3 separate regions of the Homo sapiens genome follow, and all the other regions are linked to region 1. The links are contacts of gene promoters, found by promoter capture Hi-C in blood cells and fetal thymus (Javierre and others, 2016). All regions are on one chromosome and are shown on one strand. The core of a region is centred on a gene start or on the middle of the fragment in contact, and the rest is flanking DNA. Distances in the headings are between cores, read along the strand shown.

The links. Contacts are between HindIII fragments. The CHiCAGO score rates a contact against its expected background, and 5 or more counts as called.
Region 2: the fragment with the promoter of GS1-600G8.3 here is called in contact with the fragment with the promoter of TLR8 in region 1 in 7 of 17 cell types (total CD4 T cells, non-activated CD4 T cells, naive CD8 T cells and 4 more); the score reaches 8.2 in total CD4 T cells.
Region 3: a fragment that was not itself captured here is called in contact with the fragment with the promoter of TLR8 in region 1 in 1 of 17 cell types (non-activated CD4 T cells); the score reaches 6.2 in non-activated CD4 T cells.

What each region holds. Positions count from the first base shown.
Region 1 is chrX:12,905,331-12,909,076 of GRCh38, forward strand. TLR8 (toll like receptor 8) reads left to right here and starts at 1,290. Exons shown (of 2, transcript NM_138636.5): 1 at 1,290-1,379. The coding sequence starts at 1,377. TLR8-AS1 (TLR8 antisense RNA 1) reads right to left here. Exons shown (of 5, transcript NR_030727.1): 3 at 2,886-3,003; 4 at 860-921. The HindIII fragment of the contact is 3,594 bases long and covers 1-1,405 here.
Region 2 is chrX:13,308,789-13,312,223 of GRCh38, forward strand. GS1-600G8.3 (unknown transcript) reads left to right here and starts at 1,864. Exons shown (of 17, transcript NR_046087.1): 1 at 1,864-1,954; 2 at 2,068-2,134; 3 at 2,242-2,300; 4 at 2,914-2,925; 5 at 3,045-3,070; 6 at 3,273-3,343. The HindIII fragment of the contact is 25,262 bases long and covers 1-3,435 here.
Region 3 is chrX:13,387,216-13,390,889 of GRCh38, forward strand. It overlaps LOC124905248 (a long non-coding RNA gene), which reads right to left. Exons shown (of 2, transcript XR_007068395.1): 2 at 336-602. Among named protein-coding and RNA genes, the nearest start is that of LINC01203, 54 kb to the left of the region's middle. RefSeq lists a silencer at 722-821. The HindIII fragment of the contact is 1,122 bases long and covers 962-2,083 here.

The DNA.
Region 1 (3,746 bases), core at 40-2,539:
GATGTCACAGGAATCACCTCTCAAACCATGCACCAGGTCTTGAATTCCCTTAGGGTGTGATCTTTAGAGGTCCATCTAGGTATACCCACCCAAGCCATTCTTTGACTGCTGACAGGCCTTCCTTCATAACAAGGTGTTCCACAGTCCATTTATATATGGATGTCATCTCTGCCCACCCTGCTGCCAATTTGGTTTTCTCCCACTCCTGGGGTGTAAGGCAAGATGAAACATATCACATCCCGTTCTAAACTTTATTCTTGTGGCCAGGGGTCAGCAAACTTTTTCTGTAAAGGGCCAGATGGCAAATATCTTAGGTTTTACAGGCCAAGAAGCAAATTTGGCATATTATGTAGCTACTTATATAGTAAAATAAAAATTTCCACAATTATGTAATTGATGAAACTCAAAATGTAATAATAATAATCGAAGGCAGTTTTTTTGTAGTATAGGTTTAATAATGAGAAGAATGGAATCATTTTTGGAGGTGCTAACATTCTGCTTGGTTGGAATTTAAAGTTAGTGTTCTGTATCAGCAAATCCATTGCCAATGTTCATCTAAAAATGTTTTCACTTCTGGGCCGGATTTCGTTCAAAGGCTGCAGTTTGCTGACCTCTGCTCTTGGTTACACCTTTTGAGGCCCTTGCTCTCCGAGCATAAAATGGAATCCATTTATCAGACTAAATCGGGAAGATTAAATTTTCCAGCCTCACGAATGCTCAGCCATTGACTCACTCGTTCATACAATGAACACTCATTGAGCTTATACTACATGCCAGGTGCTGGAGGAGGCATGGGGCGCCCAGGAGAAAGATGCTCGCTTTGCGGCCACAGCCCAGTGGGAGGGAGACCCATACCTACCGGTGCTGTCTCAGAAACTTGTGGAACAAAGATGAAGCAATGTTCATGTTATTCGCCTACATCTGTGAATTACACAAGGAAGACGAGTTTGAGAAATCCGAAGTTCAGTACAAATTTATGGTAACTTTTTTAAAAAAGAATACACTGAAGTTTTCTTAGTGAATGGAATAATGTTCCCTTTTTCTCCCCTGTACACACAAATACACAAAAACTAACAAAAATACGTCGTGTGTGTCTGATTTGGGTTGTATTTAAATCATTTCATAAATGACTTTTTCCCATAACTTCAGTTTCAAAGTTTTAAAGCACAGTCAATTAATGATTTGGCAACAGCTAAGAAATCACAAGTTCCCTTCTTTTCATGTAAACTTCTGTAAAACACACGCTACGTTCTGCTGATGGTAAATAGAGCCATTTCAGGAAGTTAGCCAGTTTCTCTTCTCGGCCACCTCCTGCATAGAGGGTACCATTCTGCGCTGCTGCAAGTTACGGAATGAAAAATTAGAACAACAGAAACATGGTAAGCCACTTCTATTTCTTTAGCAAAGCTTTCCAACAGAATATGGGGTTTCTGACCCAGAAATCTGGGTTGGTGGCAAATGGTGTGAGCCTAGAAAGTAATAAATGGGCAAATAAGGATAAAAATTAAAGATCGAAACAACTGTAAATGCAGGTAAAGCGGCTTGCTATGATCTTTAATTTGTGCACACGTTAGTATAAAGGAATTAGAGAGTAAATTTTGAAAATCAAATGCAGTGATGATCTTACTAATTTGGACAGGAAAATAAGAAAATTTCAAGTTAGAAATTGAACTGGAAATATTACTTACTGGCCCTACCAGAGACAATATCCTCTTCCAGAACAACAGGGTTGGAAGAGAAGGTGAGGGAAATATTCTTCCTTTGCTATTTCTGTAGAAAAGGACAAACTCTCTTCCTTCACATACATAGGTCAATTGCTAGATCCTAGTGAAGCCTGAGCTTAACCTACTGTTGGAGGCTTAAAGTTCGACATTAATTGCTACTTTTCTTGGTCAGAGTTTTAAATAATTAGGTTGGTACAAAAAACTGTGATTACTTTTCCACCAACCTAATAACATGCTACAATTTCTGTAATTATTATTTTACACTGTCAAGACATAGCAGGTGGTCCGTTTTTGTTATTGTCAAGAACTGTCAGACTAAAAATGAACTTTACACTTCTTTTTAAATGATACATTTTCTAGAAAATTCAATGAGGTTTAAGAGCAATTGAAAAGTCTGATTTCAAGAGAGTCTCATCCAAAATGTACTATATATTTTTCCCCAAAGTCCTTGGAGTTAATTTTGACAACAATTTAAAGTACACTTAAGTCTTTTGAAGTTAATGGGTCTGCCACCCAGGTTGGAGTGCAGTGGCGTGATCTCAGCTCACTGCAACCTCCGCCTCCCGGGTTCAAGCGATTCTCCTGCCTCAACCTCCCAAGTAGCTGGGACTACAGGTGTGTGCCACCACGCCTGGCTAATTTTTGTATTTTTAGTAGAGACGGGGTTTCTCCATGTTGGCCAGGCTGGTCTCGAACTCCTGACCTCAGGTGATCCGCCTGTCTCAGCCTCCCAAAGTGCTGGGATTACAGGCATGAGCCACCGCGCCCGGCCTGAAGTTAATTTTTATACCCACCTAATGTTCATTATGGATCTTGAAGGTAAATTAATTCTGCACTAAAATTTTACAATGCTTTACAAAATGACTGTAGGTGGCCCATATGGAATTCGGTCAACTGGGCCAATGACACATATGGGATTGCAGTTGAAATTATCCAATTCCTACTTGATATTTGTAAGCTGCTGTGATAGCCAGTATAATTGTACTGTAAGAATGTGGTAAATAGCCGGGGCCCGGTGGCTCACGCCTATAATCCCAGCACTTTGGGAAGCCGACGTGGGCGGATCACTTGAGGTCAGTAGGTAGAGACCAGCCCGGTCAACACGGCAAAACCTCGTCTCTACTAAAAATACAAAAATTAGCCAGGTGTGGTGGTACGCACCTGTAGTCCCAGCTACTCAGGAGGCTGAGGCAGGAGAATCGCTTGAGCCCATGAGGTGGATGTTGCAGTGAGCAAAGATCGCACCATTGTACTCCAGCCTGGGCAACGGAGTAAGACTCTGTTTCAAAACAACAACAACAACAACAACAACAGATTGGTAAATAGAGTAATAATAAAATCAAATTAAACTTGCAAAAAATGGCCACTTTGCTCCCACTGGTGGCCAATGGAGGTCAAGGACCTGGCTGACCTCCTGCCTAAAGGCAGAGGTTGTTAGCCTTCGCAATGGACTCAAATCAGAGGGGGAGCTTTCAAAACTCCTGCTGCCCAGACTGAACCCCAGATCAATGAAACCAAAATCTCTGGATACAGGGCTTGGCATTTGTAGCTTTTAGAGTTCCTAAGTATCTCTACTGTGCAGCCAAAGTTAAGAATCAGTGCCTTAGAACATCAACAGTTTTTTGGTCCTTTTGTTAAAAAGCACAGTCCGTTTTTTTAGGTGGCTAGAAATGCTCCAGGAAGAGCTGAAATGTATTTACCAGCCACCTTGGTTTGATTTTAGAAAGCAAAATAGAAGTTCTAAGTATGCTTTCTCTGAAAAGCTGAGACTGCAGATAAGAGTGAGGGCAGTTGATGGAGTTCATTCTCCTCTTTCAATCACTGCTTCTCATCCTTTCATTATAATAATCTAAGAATCTCAGAGATTATGAAAGAGAAAGCAGTCTTATGGAAGACCCCAGACTCACAGAATATTAGGGTGTGTTTCACAGGGAAGGATGTCATTACCCACAGTTAGTCTTTGAAACGCAGTTGGACATTATTTGTAAGTGCATCATAGTGTCGCCTCCAGGTTCCATTGAG
Region 2 (3,435 bases), core at 614-3,113, 400 kb after region 1:
TATATCCAGACATAATAGGCAAGACATGAGACATAAAATATAGAATTAATTTTGGAAGTCATCTAAATCATGCTCTGAGGGAAGGTACAAGGCTACTAAAGGCAAAGAGCCTTGCTAAGTCAGGGTGTGGCATAACTGAAAGCCCAAATGCCAGACTTTGTCCTCTGCTTAGCCTAAACCAGAGGTCAGATGTCTCTTGTCGCCAGATGTTGATAAACACAGAGAGGTAAGCTCTTCAGTTACCCTATCACCACCTTACTAATACATATGACTGCAAAACGTTGCCTTCATGTAAGTCAGAATATGAAGGAAAAGCCCCTAATGAATATGATTTCATGAACTTTGGACATAAAAACTCACTTGGTAGTACATTATAATTTTAAATCACATTTAATTCCCTGCCAGCCAGGAAATAATTCCATGGGAAGTCAATCAATGAAAGTTAACAAAATCATTACTAGAAAAAAAGGTAATATTTTTCATTTTCAAAAAGTAAAGGGTTGGGTTGAATGAGAAGTAGATATAGGAGACAGAGCAGCATTCTCAGGTGTTGTTCATGCCCCTGCCATTGTTTTAATTATGGCCTCAATATTCTTTCTCATGGCTGATGGTTGACTTTGGTGAGTAGAAGTAGGTAGTAGCTAAGAATAATCATGAAAAAATAGAACATTTTCTTTAAAAAGGAAAAATTGCCTAATGATATATCAGTTTTGTATCTACAATCACCATAGAACATTTAGGTTATTTGTACTCTATTATCAGGAAAGATTGGGGAAAAGTGGAGTGGCAAAGAGAAATAAAGAAGTATTAATTGGAAACCACCTCAAACATGAGAAAAATAGCCTTTATTTATTTCATTCTGCATCTGCTAGTCTCTGGGCAATCTAAAAAAACAGTCTTCAGAATTATAGCCACATGGTGATTTTTTTCCTCTCCAGAATTACAAGAAAATTGGCTCCCACACTGTGGAACTAAAAAGAGGGGCTATAGGGTGCTGCTTCTCTCTCTTGACATTTTACTTGGTTTTCAAAGGAATTCGTGACTAAGAATCTCATGGAATCTAAATGCGGTCACTGATGGAAATTTAGGTTTCCACAAAGAGTGCAGGAAGAAATTTACATGGCAAAAAAAAAGAAAAGATTTGCTCTGGCAAATGGGTGAGGTAAGGATGTGTGTGTGTGTGTGTGTGTGTGTGTGGTGTATATATGTACACGTCACATACATATATCAGTGAGTATGTATATCTCAATGATTTTCATTTGCTAGGTCTAGTAATACATCTAATTTTTAAAATAACGAGTTTTTTTCCAGCAGTTGTATAAAAATAATTACTTAATTATTGTTTTTCTTTTTCAGCAAGTTTATGAACTTTGGACATATTGAGATTATGTAAGTCCTTGGACAGCATTAATATAATATTATCTAATTTGTAATAAAAGTGTATACCCATTTTATTCATTAAGTATAAATATTTGGAAAGACGATAGATTTTAAGCCAGGTATGGAGTGAACTGACACATTCATCCACAAAAGTCAGATCAAGTTAATGAAAAAAGAGAAGATTGAGGTGTTACTATTCAGTAGTACTTCTTTTTATTTATTACTTTATTCATCAGCACATCCAGGAGAGCTTAATAACTCGCTCTCCTAGAATAAAAATCCTAGTTGGTACTCCCACCATGGCCAATTTTAAGGACAAGGAACACTAAGTTACAAGGAAATGACAATAATCAGTTCTCATTAGATGGTAAGGACAGGTGTGAACACTGTGTTACAGCTAACCAGGAGAAAAAGGAATGTTACGGAACTTAAACTGCTTAGAATGTTGATATAATAAAGGGGGATAGGGAAACAGCAAGCACTGAGGCTGGTGAGCCAGGCAGAAGTCAGAGTGGGAGGAGCCTTGAGGTCTCTCCAGGAGATTCAGGGACCATAGGATTTGGTAGTGATTCAGGTATGGGATGATCATGGCCCTCATCATTGTAGTGACCACAGTATTTTGCAGGAATCCAAAAAACAGATGATAGACATGTCCGTAACCATGATAGTGCCCATGGGATTTTGTAGCTATAGAGTGAAAAGATGACAGTGGCCATATCCAGGGTAATGTCTACGGGAATTTGTGAATATCCAGGTAAGAAATGAGTGTTTCTACTTAGGAATTGAACATGGGATACTGAAGTTATAAAGGTAGGAAATGATGATAAACCTAACAGTGGGGGTGAGCATGGTGTTTTCTAGATATCCAGATAAGAGAGGATGATGGCCCTAACTCGAGTACCAAAATTGGATTTCCTCAGGTAAGCACATAGGAGCTGAAGATGTTTCTTACCATGTTAGTGAACATGGCATTTTGTGCTATTCCAGACATGATGGCGAACCTAACCACAAAATGACCATGAGATTGTCAGGGGTCTAGTAAAGACATGATGGTGCCCTTAACTGTGAAGGTTATGACGAAATTTGTAGGTCAGTAATTAAGAGATGATGCTGATAATAACCACAGTAAGGAGCAGGGGATTTTGCAAGTAACCAGGTAAGAGATGATGGTATCTCTAAAAATATGGTGACCATGGAATTTTGAGGATATCCAATCAAGGAATAATGTGTTACTAGTAATGGTAGTACCAAGGGATTTTACAGTTACCCTGGAAAGAAATGATGTGTCCCTAGCAATGGCATTTAATCTGGGTAATTTGTAGGTCTTCATGTATGGTAGGCTTCTCTAAATCTGGTAGATCTCACGGGCTTCTGTAGGCATCCACATGAGAGATGACGTGACACAAATTGCAACCAATTGCCACCATTGTAACCTAGGTGTTTTATAAGTATCCAGCTTAAAGCTGTAGCTTTATTTATTCCTTGGATGTAAGACTTTCATGTTATCTATTGTTTTCTTTCTTTTTGAAACAGAGTCTGGCTGAGGTAAGTGCTGATGTGGGCCTAAACCACAGCCTGCACCGTGGGACTGTCACAGAGACACAGTTGAGTGATGATGTGTCCCTACAGGCCTTACCACCATTATTTCCTTCATACTTATTCAGGTGAGAAATGATTGAGTCTTGTCTTGGTAAGTGATGATGGTGATGATGGTGTAGGCCTCCCTGTTGTTCCCGATTTCGCTTCAGGTGTCCCTGACATATTCGAAACCGTGAGTTTTCCCTCTGCATATTTCAGAGACAATGCCTAACCCCGTGTTCACAGTGGAACTTTGAATACTTGGTAATTATCCGGTGTTCCTTCCCACAGCAGTGACCATGGACATTTTGCAGGTGTCCTGTAGAGAGAAATGCTGTCTTCTGGGACCACCGCCCTGAGCTTGGGGGCCCCCACTAGCATTCAGGTAAGAGTCCTTCAGTGATGGATGTGAGCATCGTGATTTGCAGGTGTCCTGGTAGAACACCTTGTGTGTTTCTGAGGCATATATCTCAGTAT
Region 3 (3,674 bases), core at 273-2,772, 480 kb after region 1:
CTCTGGGTTTATTCATTTCCTAAGGGACTTTCTGACACTAAAACACACACTAGCCAAATAGTGCTTCTCTTCCAAAATGGCAAATTACTTCAAGCAAAAGCCCTTCAGACTCAGCAGGGAAGAAGTAAAGAGTCAAATGTTACATCCACCAATACCAGGAGAATCCAGGGAAGTCTCTTTAGTTTCTTTTTCTTGTATTCCTTATATTGCTGTTAGATTATGGATGAAGGAAAAAAACTCCCAGATCCTAAAGCATGCTGACTGGACCCAAATAAATGACATTATGAGAGCCTGTATTAGTTATCTATTGCCTTCCAACAAATTACCCAAAAATATTGTGGCTCAAAATAATAAACATTTATTATCTCAGTTTCTGGGGGTCAGGAATTCAGGAGCAGCTTAGCTGGGTGGTTCTGGCACAGAGTCTCTCATGAGGTCGTAGTCAAGATGTTGGCTGGAGTGACAGTCATCTGAAGCCTTGACTGGGGTTGGTGGATCGTCTTCCAAGACGGGTTACTCACATGGTTGTTGGCAAGAGGTCTCAGTTCCTCCCCAAGTGGACCTTTTCATAGGGCTGCTTGAGTGTCTTCATGGCATGGCAGCTATGATATAAGAGAGACAGCAAAGAGGAAGTTGCCATGCTGACACCATCTAGTCTCAGAAGCCACACACCACCACTGCTGCCATATTCTATTAGTTAGAAGTGAGTCACTAAGTCTAGCCCATGCTCAAGTGGAAGAGAATGAGTCTCCACCCTTGAAAGGGAAAAGTTTCAAATGTGTTGACCTATTTTAAAGCTACCACAGGGCAGCTGTCTGGGTGGCTCCTTCATCAGTTTTCTTGCAACACTTCATATCAGCTCTCTGTACCTGCCAAACTTCAATGATTATAAATGTATGAGTCTAGTCATGTATAAAAAGCTCTGAAAAATTAGGTAGAAGAAACTTCAAATAGTTTAATAAGCTTTGCATTGCATTTTCATTCCCCTTTGGTTGGATTTTCATTGGAATGTGGATTTCTATAAACTACATATTAAAACTCCCTTTATGGGTCATTGCTAATCTAAAACTTATGGTGATTTAGACAGGGATTGGATTATAAAATAACTTTGTCCATAAGCACAAATAAAAAAGTGTAAATGAGATCTGAGGAACAGTGTTTACATACTTTAATGAGGTCATTGCTTTCAGGCACTTTATGGGCAAACTTTCCATTTAATTAAATCACAGAGGCCAGATTTAAGCTGACACTTTAAAATGTTCATTAAAAAAATTATCCTTTTTGTACCCTGGACCCAAGGGAAAGATCATGAAGTATGTGCTATATGCACAACTATGTCCTGAGAACAATGAATCAGCTGTTTTTTAAGGCTATTTTTCTTTGTTTGCATTTTCCCCTAAATTCTATTGTAAAAAATTTTAAGCATGCAGAAAAATTGAAAGAATAACACAATAAACACTTGGTTATCCTCCACCTAGATTTGATCATTTTGACATTTTGCCAAATTTGCTAATTCTCTCTCTCTGCACACACACACACACACACACACACACACACACACACACACACAGAGAGAGACATAGATGCACAAAGCCTATAAAAGCATCGCCTTTTTGGAGGTGCTGACCCATTTGAAAGTAAGTTGCAAATAATACCATCACTCTTCACCCGTAAATATATCTCCCAAGGAAAGGGGACATTCTCCTATATAACCTTAATACCGTTGTCATATTTAAGAAGATTAATAATAATCCCATTACATGGCCTTCGCATGCAAATTTTCCAGCTGACAAGTCAAAAAGACGCAGAAGCCAGCTTAAGGGTGTTCCTACTGATGAAATTAGGAAAAATTTGAGCATCAGAATGAATGACAATAAAGGAGTATAGCCCATTAAATGAAAGAAGGATCTGTGTGTCCATATTTATATAAATAAATGGTGGGGAGGCAAGGGGAAAAAACATTGTCCTTGTAGTAGAAAACCACCTATTAAATAGAAGGAACAATGGGATAAGAAAAATTACGGTCATAATAAAAATCGATTTAGGCAAGAATCATCAATGGATACTAAAATTAGTGGGTGGAAGCTTGAGGAGTATATTGTATTAGTTTCCTACTACTGCTGTGACAACTTACCACAAATTTTGTGGCTAAAACAATGCAGATTTATTATCTCACAATTCTGTAGGTTAGAAGTCCAATGCAAGTCTCCCAAGGCTAACGCCACCATGTTAGCAGGGCTGCATTCCTTTCTGAAGCTCTAGGGAAGAAGCCCTTTCCTTGCCATTTCCAACATCTAGAGGTATATATATAGCGTATTTTTATTTTCTCTATTTTTAATGCTTTGACATCTTGGGGGCTTGGTGACCCTGGAGCTCTTCCAAGGGCTAGCTAATCCCTAGAGATAGTAGAGGATTTGACTGCAAGTGTGCCTTTCTAATGCAAACCAACTAATCCAAAGCCCACACCCACAACTGCCTCCTCTATTGAGCTCTGACACCCTGGGCCACCACTACCCTGCCTTAATCACCCAGGCTAGGTGCCAGACACTAGAGACAGCCCTTACACCTCAGAGTCCACTGAAATTATTCAAACTAGCTGATCTAAACCTGCTTACCCTGCCTCACCCATTTCTTCCAATGGAAACCACAATAAAGGCTCTTGCCCACATTTTCACCTTGCACTCTCTGCCTCCTGACCAACTGATAATAGTTTGGATGTGTGTCCCTGCCCAAGTCTCATATTGAAATGTAATACTCAGTGTTGGAGTTGGGGCCTGGTGGGAGGTGATTGGATCATGGGGGCAGTTTTCTCATTAATGGCTTGGCACCATCCCCCTTGGTATTGTCCTCATGATAGTGAGTTCTTGTTAGGTGTGGGTGTTTAAAAGTGTGTAGCACCTCCTCCCTCACTCTCTTGCTCCTGCTCTGGCCATGTGACATGCCTGCTCCCCCTTTCCATCATGATTGTAAGTTTCCTGAGGCCTCCCCAGAAGCTCAGCAGATACAGCATCATGCTTCCTATAACAGCCTGCAAAACCATGAACTAATTAAACCTCTTTTCTTTACAAATTACCCGGCCTGAGGTATTTCTTTTTTTCTTCTTCTTCTTTTTTCTTTTTTTTTTTTTTGAGATGGAGTTTTGCTCTTTCACCCAGGCTGGAGTGCAGTGGCATGATCTCGGCTGATTGCAACCTCCATCTTCTGGTTTCAAGCGATTCTCCAGCCTCAGCCTCCCGAGTAGCTGGGATTACAGGTCCACGCCACTACCACCTGGCTAATTTTTGTATTTTTAGTAGAGACGGGGTTTCACCATGTTGGCCAGGCTCATCTTGAACTCCTGACCTTGTGATCCAACTGCCTCAGCCTCCCAAAGTGCTGGGATTACAGGGCGTGAGCCACCACGCCCAGCCCCTGAGGTATTTCTTTATAGCAGTGTGAGGACGAACTAAAACACCAAGCCCAGTGCTTCCTCATGTAGCCCCCATAATTTGGCATGTCCCTACTCTTGGGATCTGCGAGTATAACAAAGTATTTTTTCAATGGAAATAAACGCCTGGTCTGTCGGCCTCACTGTATCTGAATAATAATAAGATCCACATTTTAAAACAAAGGCCACCCATGTTTCTTAGCTCATGATCCCCTTCTTCTGTCTTCACAGCCAGCAAATGATGGGT